Linked DNA regions of Homo sapiens: all the other regions are linked to region 3. The links are contacts of gene promoters, found by promoter capture Hi-C in blood cells and fetal thymus (Javierre and others, 2016). All regions are on one chromosome and are shown on one strand. Each heading gives the region's core, a stretch centred on a gene start or on the middle of the fragment in contact. The rest is flanking DNA. Distances are from core to core; before and after follow the strand shown. Region 1 overlaps RASSF3-DT (RASSF3 divergent transcript). Region 2 overlaps LOC105369803 (a long non-coding RNA gene). Region 3 holds the start of GNS (glucosamine (N-acetyl)-6-sulfatase). Region 4 overlaps LOC105369803 (a long non-coding RNA gene).

Region 1 (3,087 bases), core at 233-2,732, 160 kb before region 3:
TGTATTTTTTTTTAACACGTTGGCCTTCACATATCTGGTCAATTTTTCTCCATTTTATTTTATTTTTTAATTTTTTTCCTGAGATGGAGCCTTGCTCTGTTGCCCAGACTGGAGTGCAGTGGCTCGATCTTCGCTCACTGCAACCTCCACCTCCTGGGTTCAAGCAGTTCTCCTTCCTCAGCCCCTCGAGTAGCTGGGATTGCAGGCATGCACCACCGTACCCAGCTAATTTTTGTATTTTTAGTAGAGACAGAGTTTCACCATGTTGGCCAGGCTGGTCTCAATTTCCTGACCTCGTGATCCACCTGCCTCACCCTCCCAAAATGTTGGGATTACAGGCATGAGCCATGGCACCCGGCCTATTTTATTTTTTATTTTATTTATTTTATTTTTATTTTTATTTTGAGACAGAGTCTCGCTCTATTGCCCAGGCTGGAGTGCAGTGTCACAATCTCAGCTCACTGCAACCTTTCCCTCCCAGGTTCAAGTGATTCTCCTGCCTCAGCCTTCCTAGTGGCTGGGATTTACAGTCGTGCACCACCACGCCTGGCTAATTTTTGTATTTTTAGTAGAGATGGGGTTTCACCATGTTGCCCAGGCTGGTCTCGAACTCCTGACCTCAGGTGATCCACCCACCTTAGCCTCCCAAAGTGCCGGGATTACAGGCATGCGCCAACCACACCTAGCCTATTTTAAGTGTTTGATTTAGCAGGCAAATAGATTGTGCTTAAGTTTTTGCTAGTGACCTGTCTTCTCCCTGAACTTCCTATTCTATTCCTCTTACGTATCCTTCTCCTTTAAGAATCAAACTAAATCCCACCTCCTTTGAAGGCTTCCTGACCAAATCTTTTATTTATTTTGTTTTGAGACAGAGTCTCACTCTGTCACCCAGGCTGGAGTGCAGTGGTGCAATCTCAGTTTACTGCAACCTCTGCCTCCCGGGTTCAAGCAATTCTCCTTCCACACCTCCCGAGTAGCTGGGATTACAGGCACAAGCCACCATGCCCAGCTAATTTTTTTGTATTTTTAGTAGAGATGGGGTTTCACCATGTTGGCCAAGCTGACCTAGAACTCCTGACCTCAAGTGACTTGCCCACTTTGGCCTCTCAAAGTGCTGGGATTACAGGCGTGAGCCACCTTGCCCGGCCCTTGACCAAATCTTATCACATTCTTCTGACTTTGGCTTATATTTTGACACATTCTTCACAGGTTTATTGATTGGGTAATCACAGTCTGTTATCATTACATAATTGTTCTATGGGGAATATTTTTTTCGTTAACTAGTTTATAAGGTTTTGAAGGCCAGAAATCTATCTAACTCTTCTTTTATGTCTTACCCAGTTTCCATGGTGCTATGCATATAATAAGATCTCAGTACTTAAGGTAGTGAAAGAGTGGATGTAGCTATAGCTATGGCATGGATATAGCACAGCAGGGAACAAGGGAGAACAATTGCTGAATTATATCCATCAGCAATTTTCCTTTGATATGGACAATTTATGCAGCCCAGCTTAGGCTACCACTAAGGCCTCCACAGAAATTCTGAGGGCACTGTTAGGTCTCTTACTTGTATTTATTAAGAAGGCTCAATTTCTCCCTGGAATGCCTTTCTTGAACAAAAAAGCATTTCTATTTTCCTAAAGCTGTTGTCATGAGACACAGATTTCTTTTTTTTTTTTAAATTATACTTTAAGTTCTAGGGTACATGTGCACAACGTGCAGGTTTGTTACATATGTATACGTGTACCACGTTGGTGTGCTGCAACCATTAACTCGTCATTTACATTAGGTATATCTCCTAATGCTATCCCTCCCCCCTCCCCCCACCCCACATCAGGCCCTGGTGTGTGATGTTCCTCTTCCTGGAGACACAGATTTCAAAGTCAGATATGGTCACCAGATCTCTGCCTTGTGTTTGTGATAAACAGTCCTTATTTAGCCACATTTTATTTATTTCTGTTCCCCTCTCTATCTCTTGACGCGCTGAGGTTAAATCTCAAGCAAAAATGTCAGAAATGTCTGTTTATTCTTCCCAGTTTACAAAATGCACGTGGCTGCAGAGATGACATGACTTGACAAGTAGTGGTGACTCTTCACTTTGAGGACAGCATTAATCTCCCAGCCTCAGCTCTGCTTCTAGAAGCCCCTGTAAGACATAATATCACTATGGATGGGTCATAATCATGGTCAATGCCTCATGGCAAAAAAAGTTCAGGATCTCCCTACCTGTATTCAAACTAAGGGATAGATGGCTAAAAGCCCTTAGCAGAAGCGTGGGGGTAGGGAGCACAAATTAATTGCAAGGACTGATCAAAATCAATGTTGGAAAGTTCAATGTCCCAGACAATTGAATAAAAATAATCTTTTCTCTCATTTAAAAACCTCGAATACAATCTCTGTCACACAAAGACACTCTCTAATAACATATTTCAAATCAATTCACTGCAAATCATTTGTGGCTGGAAACCCTTGTGGTTTCCTCTGAAGTTGTCTGACACTCCTCTCACCCTAGGTTGGCTGAGCCCGAAGGCTGTGTAGTGTAGTGATCAGGAGGGTGAACGTGGGAGCTCGGGCTGCCTTGCCGCTTGCCGTTGTAAAGTCTATGCCACGCTTCCAGGGGAAGATGAGAAGTGTTAGGAGGATTAAATGAGTTTAGGAGCGCTCAAAATACTGCCTGATAAGCCGGGCGCGGTGGCTCACGCCTGTAATCCCAGCACTTTGGGAGGCTGAGGCGGGTGAATCACGAGGTCAGGAGATCGAGACCATCCTGGCTAACACGGTGAAACCCCGTCTCTACTAAAAATACAAAAAATTAGCCGGGCGTGGTGGCGGGCGCCTGTAGTCCCAGCTCCTCGGGAGGCTGAGGAAGGAGAATGGCGTGAACCCAGGAGGCGGAGCTTGCGGTGAGCCAAGATCGCGCCACTGCACCCCAGCCTGGGCGAGAGAGAGAGAGACTCCATCTCAAAAAAAAAAAAAAAAAAAAAAGAATAGTGCCTGATACACAGTAAGAGGTCAAAAAATGTTCAATGAATTAATCTTTTTTCCTTATCTGAGGGGTCTTTTCTAGAAAAAATATCTCAGAAGTTA
Region 2 (2,870 bases), core at 220-2,719, 230 kb before region 3:
CAGGAGAATCACTTGAACCTGGAAAGCCGCGGTTGCAGTGAGCCAAGATTGCACCATTGTACTCCATCTGGGCGATAGAGTGAGACTCCGTGTCAAGAAAAATAAAAAAAGAAAATATTTGAACTACTTTTGTGATGCTCATTGCCATTTTCTACTCTGAATTGCAGATATTTGTGTATGTCTTAAAATCTGGTTTCAAGATTGTGGGTCTGAGGGGGACTATAACTAGAAGACTGCTTCCTTCTTTTTAGATGCTATGAAAGCATCCTCACTTATTTTTCCTTTTGTTTTCCCCCCATCTCCTTTTAGCAGGCCTGACTGGCAAAGCCATGCCTGGGTCAGGCAGCTCTTCTCCTCATTGTCTCATATGAACAGTCATACGCATTCTCCCACTTCATTTTCAGCCTTTTTCAGTTCCATCTCATTGGCCTACTTAAGATCATAATGAGCCTTGGCTGCGGAATGGGAAAATGGGCTGGCAGGTGGCAGTGGTGAGCGTGGGCGAAATTCCTGCAGACCCAGAATTTGTTTGCTTCAACATTTCATTTTCAAAGTCTACTTTTTTTTTTGCTCTCTGCTTTGGAGTTTCTTATATTACTGTAGTGTGATCAGAAGCATATAGATCTACTGTCAGAATAGACGAGAATAAAGGCCATTTGATTCCTCGCTGCTACTGTGATGCGTGTGAAAGACAGTATTGAAAGAGGCACATCATCAGCACGTTACCTCCGTCCCAAAGGCTGCAAAGAGTCTCAAGTGGGAGTGACAAGCCAGGTGAACAGGGAGAGATGTCTGTAGTGAGCTCATCTCCCAAATAGAACTCATTATTCTAACGATTCCTAGAATTGCCTTCATTTCTCACTATGAGACTGCAGGTCCACCCACCTCAGAACTATCTGGGGTGATTATTCATACTGCTTTCCCACACTCGGACAATGTAAGGGCCAGGATTTCTGGAGAAGGGACTATGTATCTACATTTTTATTTACTTCTTATTTTTAATTGACAGATAAAACTTATATACATATGTATTTATGGTATACAGCATGATGTTTTGAAATATGTACTTATTGCGGAATGGTTAAATCAACCTCATTAATATATGCATTGTCTCATATACTTATTTTTTTGTGGTGAGAACACTTAAAATCTACTTGGCAATTTTCAAGTATAGGATACATTGTTACTAACTATAGTCACTATGTTGTACAATAGAGCTCTCAAACTTATTCCTTCTGTCTAGGTGAAATTTTGTGTCCTTTGACCAATATCTCCCCTAACCCCTCCCAACCCCCAGCCTTTGGTAACCACTATTCTACTTTCTACCTCTGTGAGTACAAAACTTTTTAAAAAATGAGTTGTTTTTTTTTTAAATTTTTTAAAGACAGGGTCTTGCTTTGTCGCCCAAGCTGTAGTGTAGTGGTGTGATCATAGCTCACTGCAGCCTCAAACTCCTGGGCTCAAGCAATTCTCCCACCTCAGCCTACTGAGTAACTGGGACTATAGGCACATGCCACGTTGCTTGGATAACTTTTTAAAACTTTTCGTAGAGACAGAGTCTCACTATGTTGCACAGGCTGGTCTTGAACTCCTGGCCTCAAGTGATCCTCTTGCCTTAGCCTCCCAAAGTGCTAGGATTACAGGCGTGAGCCACTGCACCTGGCCCTGAGTTCAACTTTGTTAAATTCCACATAGAAGTGAGAACATGTGGTAATTGTCTTTCTGTGCCTGGCTTATTGCACTGAACTTCTCCACATTTATCTACACAATCACAAATGGCAGAATCCTTTTTTTAAAAGGCTGAATAGTGTTCCACCATGTACATATACCACATGTTCTTGATTAATTCATCTGTCCATGGACAGCTAAGTTGATTATCTTGGCTACTGTGAATGGTGGTGCAATGAACGTGGGGATTCAGTGAACCTGCAGTTTAACAAGTTACCCAGCTGAAGCTCATGCTGTCCTCCTCTGAGAACTGCTGAATTGCAGAATCCTATCATTGAGTCCCAGTGAGTCCTTCACAATCAATCAAGGTCTCCAGCAGAGAACCGGACTAAGAACAGGGCTTGAGGTTAGAACCTGGTCCTGCCATGTGTTGGCAGATGACTGTAAGAAAGCAGCTTAACCCTTCAGTACCCCAGTGTCCTCTTCCATAAAAAACAGAAGATAACGACAGTACCTATTCCTTGGGGATGTTTTAAGAATTAAATAAATTAATGCATATAAAGTACACTAATATGGCACACAGTAAGTGCACAATAAATGATAGCTCTCATTTCCTGCCCAATCCAGTGTTTCCCAAATGTCATTCACAGGCTATCTTCACAATTTTTGCCATACATGCATAACTCCCTACTAGTATTTTTACTAAGTACCTTACCCCCTTTTTTAGCATCATCCTAAAAAGTGATGCCTGGGGAATTATTTGATATACGATTACATTTTTAAAACATTAAAATTGATACCAGCAACTGGGTGTGGTGGCTCATGCCTGTAATCCCAGCATTTTGGGAGGCCAAGGTGGGCAGATCACTTGAAGCCAGGAGTTTGAGACCAGCCTGGCCAACATGGTGAAATCCCATCTATGCTAAAAATACAAATATTAGCTGAGCATGGTGGCACATGGCTGTAATCCCAGCTACTTGGGAGGCTGAGGCACAAGTATTGCTTGAACCTGGGAGGCAGAGGTTACAATGAGCTGAGATCAAGCCACTGCACTCCAGCCTGGGTGACAAAGCGACACTCTGTCTCAAAAAATAAATAAATAAATTTAAATTTTAAAAAATTGATACAGGCCAGGTGTGGTGGCTCACGCCTGTAATCCCAGCAAATTGGGAGGCCAAGGCAGGAGAACCACTCGCATCCAG
Region 3 (3,053 bases), core at 238-2,737:
TGAAAGCAAAAAGAGAACTGAAACGAAGAAAGCAATAAAGCATTTGGTTTTAAAGCGAAGAGAGGAATGCTGAACCCAGGGTCAGAGGACTCTGCCTCAACTACTCATGTCTTGGGCAAGTTGCTTTCTGGGCCTCCATGGGGAAGGGGTTGGAGTGGATGTTTCCAAAGGTCACACATTCCATAATTCTGCAATACACAAGCAAAATTTACTCTGGAAAAAAAATGAAGTCTTGTGACAACACCCATTAGATAGAAAATGAAACACTGACAGTCTCTAATGCAACAGTCAGGTGTTCAATCACACTAATTGAATTTTCTTGATTCTTGTGAGGCAACACACACCCTCAATAGTTCGACGGTCGGCCTACCAGATTAGTTCACTTCAGGCCTTTTTTTTTTTTTTTTTTTTTTTTTTTTTTTGGAGACGGAGTCTCGCTCTGTCGCCAGGCTGGAATGCAGTGGCGCGATCTCGGCTCACTGCAACTGCTGCCTCCCGGGTTCAAGCGATTCTCCTTCCTCAGCCTCCCAAGTAGCTGGGACTACAGCTGCGCGCCACCACGCCCAGCTAGAATTATTGTATTTCTAGTAGAGACGGGGTTTCACCATGTTGGCCAGGATGGTCTCGATCTCTTGACCTTCTGATCCGCCCGCCTCGGCCTCCCAAAGTGCTGGGATTACATGAGTGACACACCGCGCCCGGCCCAGGCTTATTTTTATTGACATCAGATACAGACATTGTATACAGGCACAAACGTGGAGGTGGTCTAGGTCCCTCATAAAGGGGACTGGACTTGTCTGTGATCCTCTAATCCAAAAGAAAAACAATCAGGCCTTGAGTGCTCTTAGACAGCACCTGATCCTCATTGGTTCAACCCATCCTCCACTGGTCTCCACATGTTTATCTTGAGATATTAACGTAAACTCCACAGCAGTACGGTCCAGACTAGAAGCTCTGTGTGCTGTACGCATGTGCCTCAATCCAGAAAGGAAAAGAGTATTGCAGTCCCTTACACCGGCATAAAGGGCCTCAGGTGGGAAAACCAAACCTACCCAAGGATAAGACAGCCAGTTCGGGGAGGAGGGTGGTGGGGACCGGGAAAGAGAGCAACAAACCGGGTAGTCAGCCCAAGAGATAGAGGGGCGGGGCAGAAACAGAAGAGTTACCATGCCGCCGAGCACTTCGTCCTGGTCGTCCGTGAGGAGCAGCACCACGTTGGGCCTCCGGGTTCCCGCAGCCACCCCGAAGACCCCCAGGCAGCCGCCCAGCACCAGCAGTAGCAGCGCTGGGCTGCAGGAGGGCAGGTGGCGGGGGCTGCCCCGCCGGAGCCGACCTGGGGCTAGAGGCAGGAGCCGCATAGCGGACAGGCTCCGGGGTGACCCCGGGACGGGACGGGACGGAGGGACGCACAGGTAGCTGAAGGGCGAGAGGCCGACCAGCCGAAGGAATAAAAAGCCGTGCCTTGAAGGCCGGTGGCTGGAGTCAGACGTTTTCTCCCTAGGCGCGATCACGTGAGCCAGGGACAGGGGGCGGAGCACGCTGCGCGGTCACGTGACGGCCGGCGTGGGCGGGGCTGCGGACTGGCGCAGCCTGGAGGGAGGCATCAGGCAGTGGCGGAAAAGGGGCGGAGAACCGGAGAAAAGGGCGGAGAACCGGAGAAAAGGGCGGAGAACCGGAGAAAAGGGCGGAGAACCGGGAAAAGGGCGGAGAACCGGGAAAAGGTCAAGACCTGTACGTACCTCTCGCGCAGGCTCGGGTTGCGTTCTGGTAGGACGTACGTGTTTCTGAGCGCTTGGTGGAAAGATTTAAATGGGGGGAAGAGAAGATGAAAAGCAGGAAAGAGTTGGCAAATACTAACCAACCGATAAAGGAAGAGAAAGGAGGACTGTACATAACAGAAATTATCATCAGCTGGTGAGGAAAGTGGACTCTACCATATTTAATCCCCAAGTCGACGGGCACTTATTCAAGGCCCGGATGTTTAATCGTTTTTAATTTTCTCTACAACTTGTGAGATAAATCTTAACATTCTCATTTGGCTCAGACATTAAATTCGGAACTGGTTAGCTCTCTTAACTCCAAAGCCTAATTATGTTCTTCTTTCCTCAGCAGACATCGTAGTTTCAAACAATTTAGGGATGTCCTGACAGCTTTATCCTAATGGTTATCCTAATGGTCCTTGGTGACTTTTTAAACACCCTCTTGGAACATGTTGGAGGATGTGCAGATCGAACAAAAATCTTGAAACGTGGTCATCCAACTGCATTATTAAGTAATCTTTAGCGGGGAATAGCCCTTGAAACTAGCTCCAGATATTTCTGTGGTCGCTCTGGAATAATTAGACTTTGCCCCTCTCCTCTCACCGCCCACCGTGGGCGCGGTGGCTCACGCTTGTAATCCCAGCACTTTGGGAGGCGGGTGGATCACCTGAGGTCAGGAGTTTTAGACCAGCCTGGCCAACGTGGGGAAACCCCGTCTCTACTAAAATACAAAAATTAGCTGGGCGTGGTGGCAGGCGCCTGTAATCCCAGCTACTCGGGAGGCTGAGGCATGAGAATCGCTTGAACCCGGGAGGCGGAGCTTGCAGTGAGCCACTGCACTCTGGCCTCAGGGACAGAGCGAGACTCTTGTCTCAAAACAAACAAACAAACAAAAAATCACAGAGATATTCCTGGCAAGGTGAACTGTCAAGTCACATCCCCAGACCGATATAACAAGGTATACCTCCTTGCTGGTAAAAGTATTTTCTCTGAGTTGAACTGTTTGCCAAGAAGAGTCTCTTAAAACTCGTGAAAACTATTCCAGAACTTAAAGTATTAAAAAAAAAAACTCGTGAAAACACTATACTATAAGGTAAAAATAATGATGGAAACACGTTGAAACCTGATGTGTACAAGGATAGGGCTTATGCAAAAAAAAAAAAATTACCTTTATTACTTTGTTTTTTTCACACAGAGGGGTAATGCGCGGAGTCCTAACAAGGTTTGAGGTAGGGGTGGTAACTCACACAATAGCATGAAAACCCAATCATCAGGCTTATGAACCACAAAAGG
Region 4 (2,832 bases), core at 86-2,585, 250 kb before region 3:
ATACAGTTTCTAGTTATGAGGGCCAAGGTCTAAAGGACAAGCCAAAAGAATGACAGAGGAAGGGGATTTAGGGCTAACAGGTGGTCCCCAGACATATTGGCTGAAAGGCAGTTCACAGCTAAAGTGTCATATGTGGGTGTTACTGTGCTCCTCATCCATGCTCTCTGTAGCGAGTCATTCTGGAACACTCCTGGTTCTCGCTATGGCCATAAGAAGTGACTTTCATGAGACCTTCAGAAGAATAGCCCGGCTCTTTTACTGGTTCCCCAAATCACTGACCTGCTCAAAGAATCGGAAATCCAAGCTGCTCTGGAGCCAAGGTGGGGGTAAGTTACCTCAGGCTAATGCCTTATTTCAAATCCGTTTTTTTGTGTGTGTGTGTTACATTTTAAAATGGAGCCTCCCTCGCATGGGCAGGGAGGAGTGGGAAAGAAAAGTCTTGAAGCCTTTAAAAGGTATTCCACTTGGTCATCTGGAGGGAAAATTGAGAGAAAATAAAATTAAGCATTTTGAGGCTGATGTATTAGAAGCCATGAACATTGTTACAATCCAATTGTATGCTTTTTAGGCATTTTGATTCCGAAAAGTTGACTAAAGAGAGATGGAGAATGTTTAGTATTTAAAAACAACAAAAACAGCTCTTATTCTCAGGGACTCTTAACTTGTCTTAGTACTAAAACATCTTAGAATAAACAGAACACAAAAAATAAGTCACAGTGAGTTCCCCTCCTTTCCATAGAAAACTAAAAAGGTCAGTGGGCCTTAAATCTCTTTTATTTGGGTCAGTTTATGCATCATATTTTAGGTATTTATTGATGTGAGAATTTAAAGCACCTTATATTTGCTACCATATAAAGCCCTGCCTTTTCTGTCCAGTCCTGCCTGACTGGAATATGCAAGGGTCAGAGGAGAGGGGGTTAAAGGGAGTAGATGACCCCTCCAAGTCTGGTATCTGAAGTTCCTGCAGGAGCCCAGCTTTCACCTTCATACTCTGCAGCACTGGTTGTACTACTCACACTACTGTAAGCCAATTCTCTCACTTCATAATGTTTCATCTTGCAACTGAATCAAAATTCTCATTATGTTTCTTTCACACCCATGTAGCTCAGAATTTTATGTAAGTGCTTAACAATTACTTAAGATGTATTATGTGTTTGATACATTATCAAACATAATCTGATGATGTGCTAGATTATCCAGTGCCAGATCCTCCTTTAAAAACAAGTGACGACTGGGCACCGTGGCTCACACCTGTAATCTCAGCACTTTGGGAGGCCGAGGCAGATGCATTACCTGAGGTGAGGAGTTCGAGACCAGCCTGGCCAACATGGTGAAAACCTGTCTGTACTAAAAATACAAAAAAATTAGCCGGGCATGGTGGCTGGTGCCTGTAATCCCAGCTACTCAGGAGACTGAGGCAAGAGAATCACTTGAACCTGGGAGGCGAAGGTTGCAGTGAGCCAAGATCATGCCACCGTACTCCAGCCTGGGCAACAAGAGCTAAACTTCGTCTCAAAAAAAAAACAAAAAACAGAAGTGACTATGATCTATAATCACCAAGGCAGGTATATGATTAAGACATTTATTTAAAAGCATGCAGACCGGGCGCGGCGGCTCATGCCTGTAATCCCAGCACTTTGGGAGGCCGAGGCGGGCAGATCACCTGAGGTCGGGAGTTCAAGACCAGCCTGACCAACATGGAGAAACCCTGTCTCTACTAAAAATACAAAATTAGCTGGGTGTGGTAGCACATGCCTGTAATCCCAGCTACTCGGGAGGCAGAAGCAGGAGAATTGCTCGAAAACCCAGGAGGTGGAGGTTGCGGTGAGCCGAGATTGTGCGATTGCACTCCAGCCTAGGCAACAAGAGTGAAACTCCGTCTCAAAAAACAAAAACAAAAACAAAAACAAAACCATGCAATTCATTTAAAAAAAAAAGAAATTTATAAAATATAAGGCCTAGGACATTTCAATCTTCCATTTTTTCTTTAATTTTTTTTCATTCTCACTGTCAAAATAGGGAGAATTTAACTTAATCGTTTAAGTCTCTGTTTATATGTACCATTCTTCAGATATGGATTAACATAATTTGGGAAGTTAGAGCCCCAAAAGAACTTAAGAAAAATCATCTTCACCAATTGCTTCATTTTAAAGATAAGCAAAAAGGCCAGGGGCGGTGGCTCATGCTTGTAATCCCAGCACTTTGGGAGGCCAAGGTGGGTGGATCACTTGAGGTCAGGAGTTTGAGACCAGCCTGGCCAACATGGCGAATCCCTGTCTCTACTAAAAATACAAAAATTAGCCGGGTGTGGTGGTGGGTGCCTATAATCCCAGCTACTTGGGAGGCTGAGCCAGAAGAATCGCTTGAGCCCAGGAGGTGGAGGTTGCAGTGAGCTAAGATGGAACCACTGCACCCCAGCCTGGGCGACAGAGCAAGACTCAGCCTCAAAAAATAAAAATAAGATGAGCAAACTGCCTCCAGAAGGTTAGATACCTTAACCTCCCAAAACTATTACATAGGCAGAACCAGAGCTTTATCCCAGATTATCTAATTCTTGGTCTGCTGCTCTTTTTATCACACCACAGAGCAATGGTGAGTAAGTAACAGAATGTGAACATACGAGCCCTCACTGAATATTTTACTTATAGCCTTCATCAGTAGATAATCTATACCTAGAAAGTTTGATTATCTGTTTTTCCAAAGTAAAGCTTATTAGTTTTCTCATTAGTTTGGAGATTGATAGCCTGATTCCAACAATCTTTTTACTTATACACAATATTATGAAAGAAAGATTTTTGTTGAGGCCAAGCTCAGTGGCTCATGCTATGATCC

The links. Contacts are between HindIII fragments. The CHiCAGO score rates a contact against its expected background, and 5 or more counts as called.
Region 1: a fragment that was not itself captured here is called in contact with the fragment with the promoter of GNS in region 3 in 1 of 17 cell types (neutrophils); the score reaches 6.5 in neutrophils.
Region 2: a contact is called between a fragment that was not itself captured here and the fragment with the promoter of GNS in region 3, in 3 of 17 cell types (total CD4 T cells, non-activated CD4 T cells and neutrophils). The highest score is 6.6, in total CD4 T cells.
Region 4: a contact is called between a fragment that was not itself captured here and the fragment with the promoter of GNS in region 3, in 5 of 17 cell types (neutrophils, naive CD8 T cells, total CD8 T cells and 2 more). The highest score is 9.6, in neutrophils.

What each region holds. Positions count from the first base shown.
Region 1 is chr12:64,597,071-64,600,157 of GRCh38, forward strand. RASSF3-DT (RASSF3 divergent transcript) reads right to left here. Exons shown (of 2, transcript NR_187549.1): 2 at 2,008-2,146. It also overlaps a transcript of RASSF3 not described here. Among named protein-coding and RNA genes, the nearest start is that of RASSF3-DT, 11 kb to the right of the region's middle. The HindIII fragment of the contact is 5,723 bases long and covers 1-3,087 here.
Region 2 is chr12:64,525,181-64,528,050 of GRCh38, forward strand. The region is part of intron 3 of LOC105369803 (a long non-coding RNA gene); the gene reads right to left. It also overlaps a transcript of RASSF3 not described here. Among named protein-coding and RNA genes, the nearest start is that of TBK1, 74 kb to the left of the region's middle. The HindIII fragment of the contact is 4,446 bases long and covers 1-2,870 here.
Region 3 is chr12:64,757,919-64,760,971 of GRCh38, forward strand. It overlaps GNS (glucosamine (N-acetyl)-6-sulfatase), which reads right to left and starts at 1,488. Exons shown (of 14, transcript NM_002076.4): 1 at 1,167-1,488. The coding sequence starts at 1,358. It overlaps LOC124903113 (small nucleolar RNA U13), which reads right to left; the gene lies at 2,950-3,053. It also overlaps a transcript of TBC1D30 not described here. RefSeq lists an enhancer at 34-914. The HindIII fragment of the contact is 13,978 bases long and covers 1-3,053 here.
Region 4 is chr12:64,507,004-64,509,835 of GRCh38, forward strand. It overlaps LOC105369803 (a long non-coding RNA gene), which reads right to left. Exons shown (of 4, transcript NR_188079.1): 4 at 1-472. It also overlaps a transcript of RASSF3 not described here. Among named protein-coding and RNA genes, the nearest start is that of TBK1, 56 kb to the left of the region's middle. The HindIII fragment of the contact is 2,742 bases long and covers 1-2,706 here.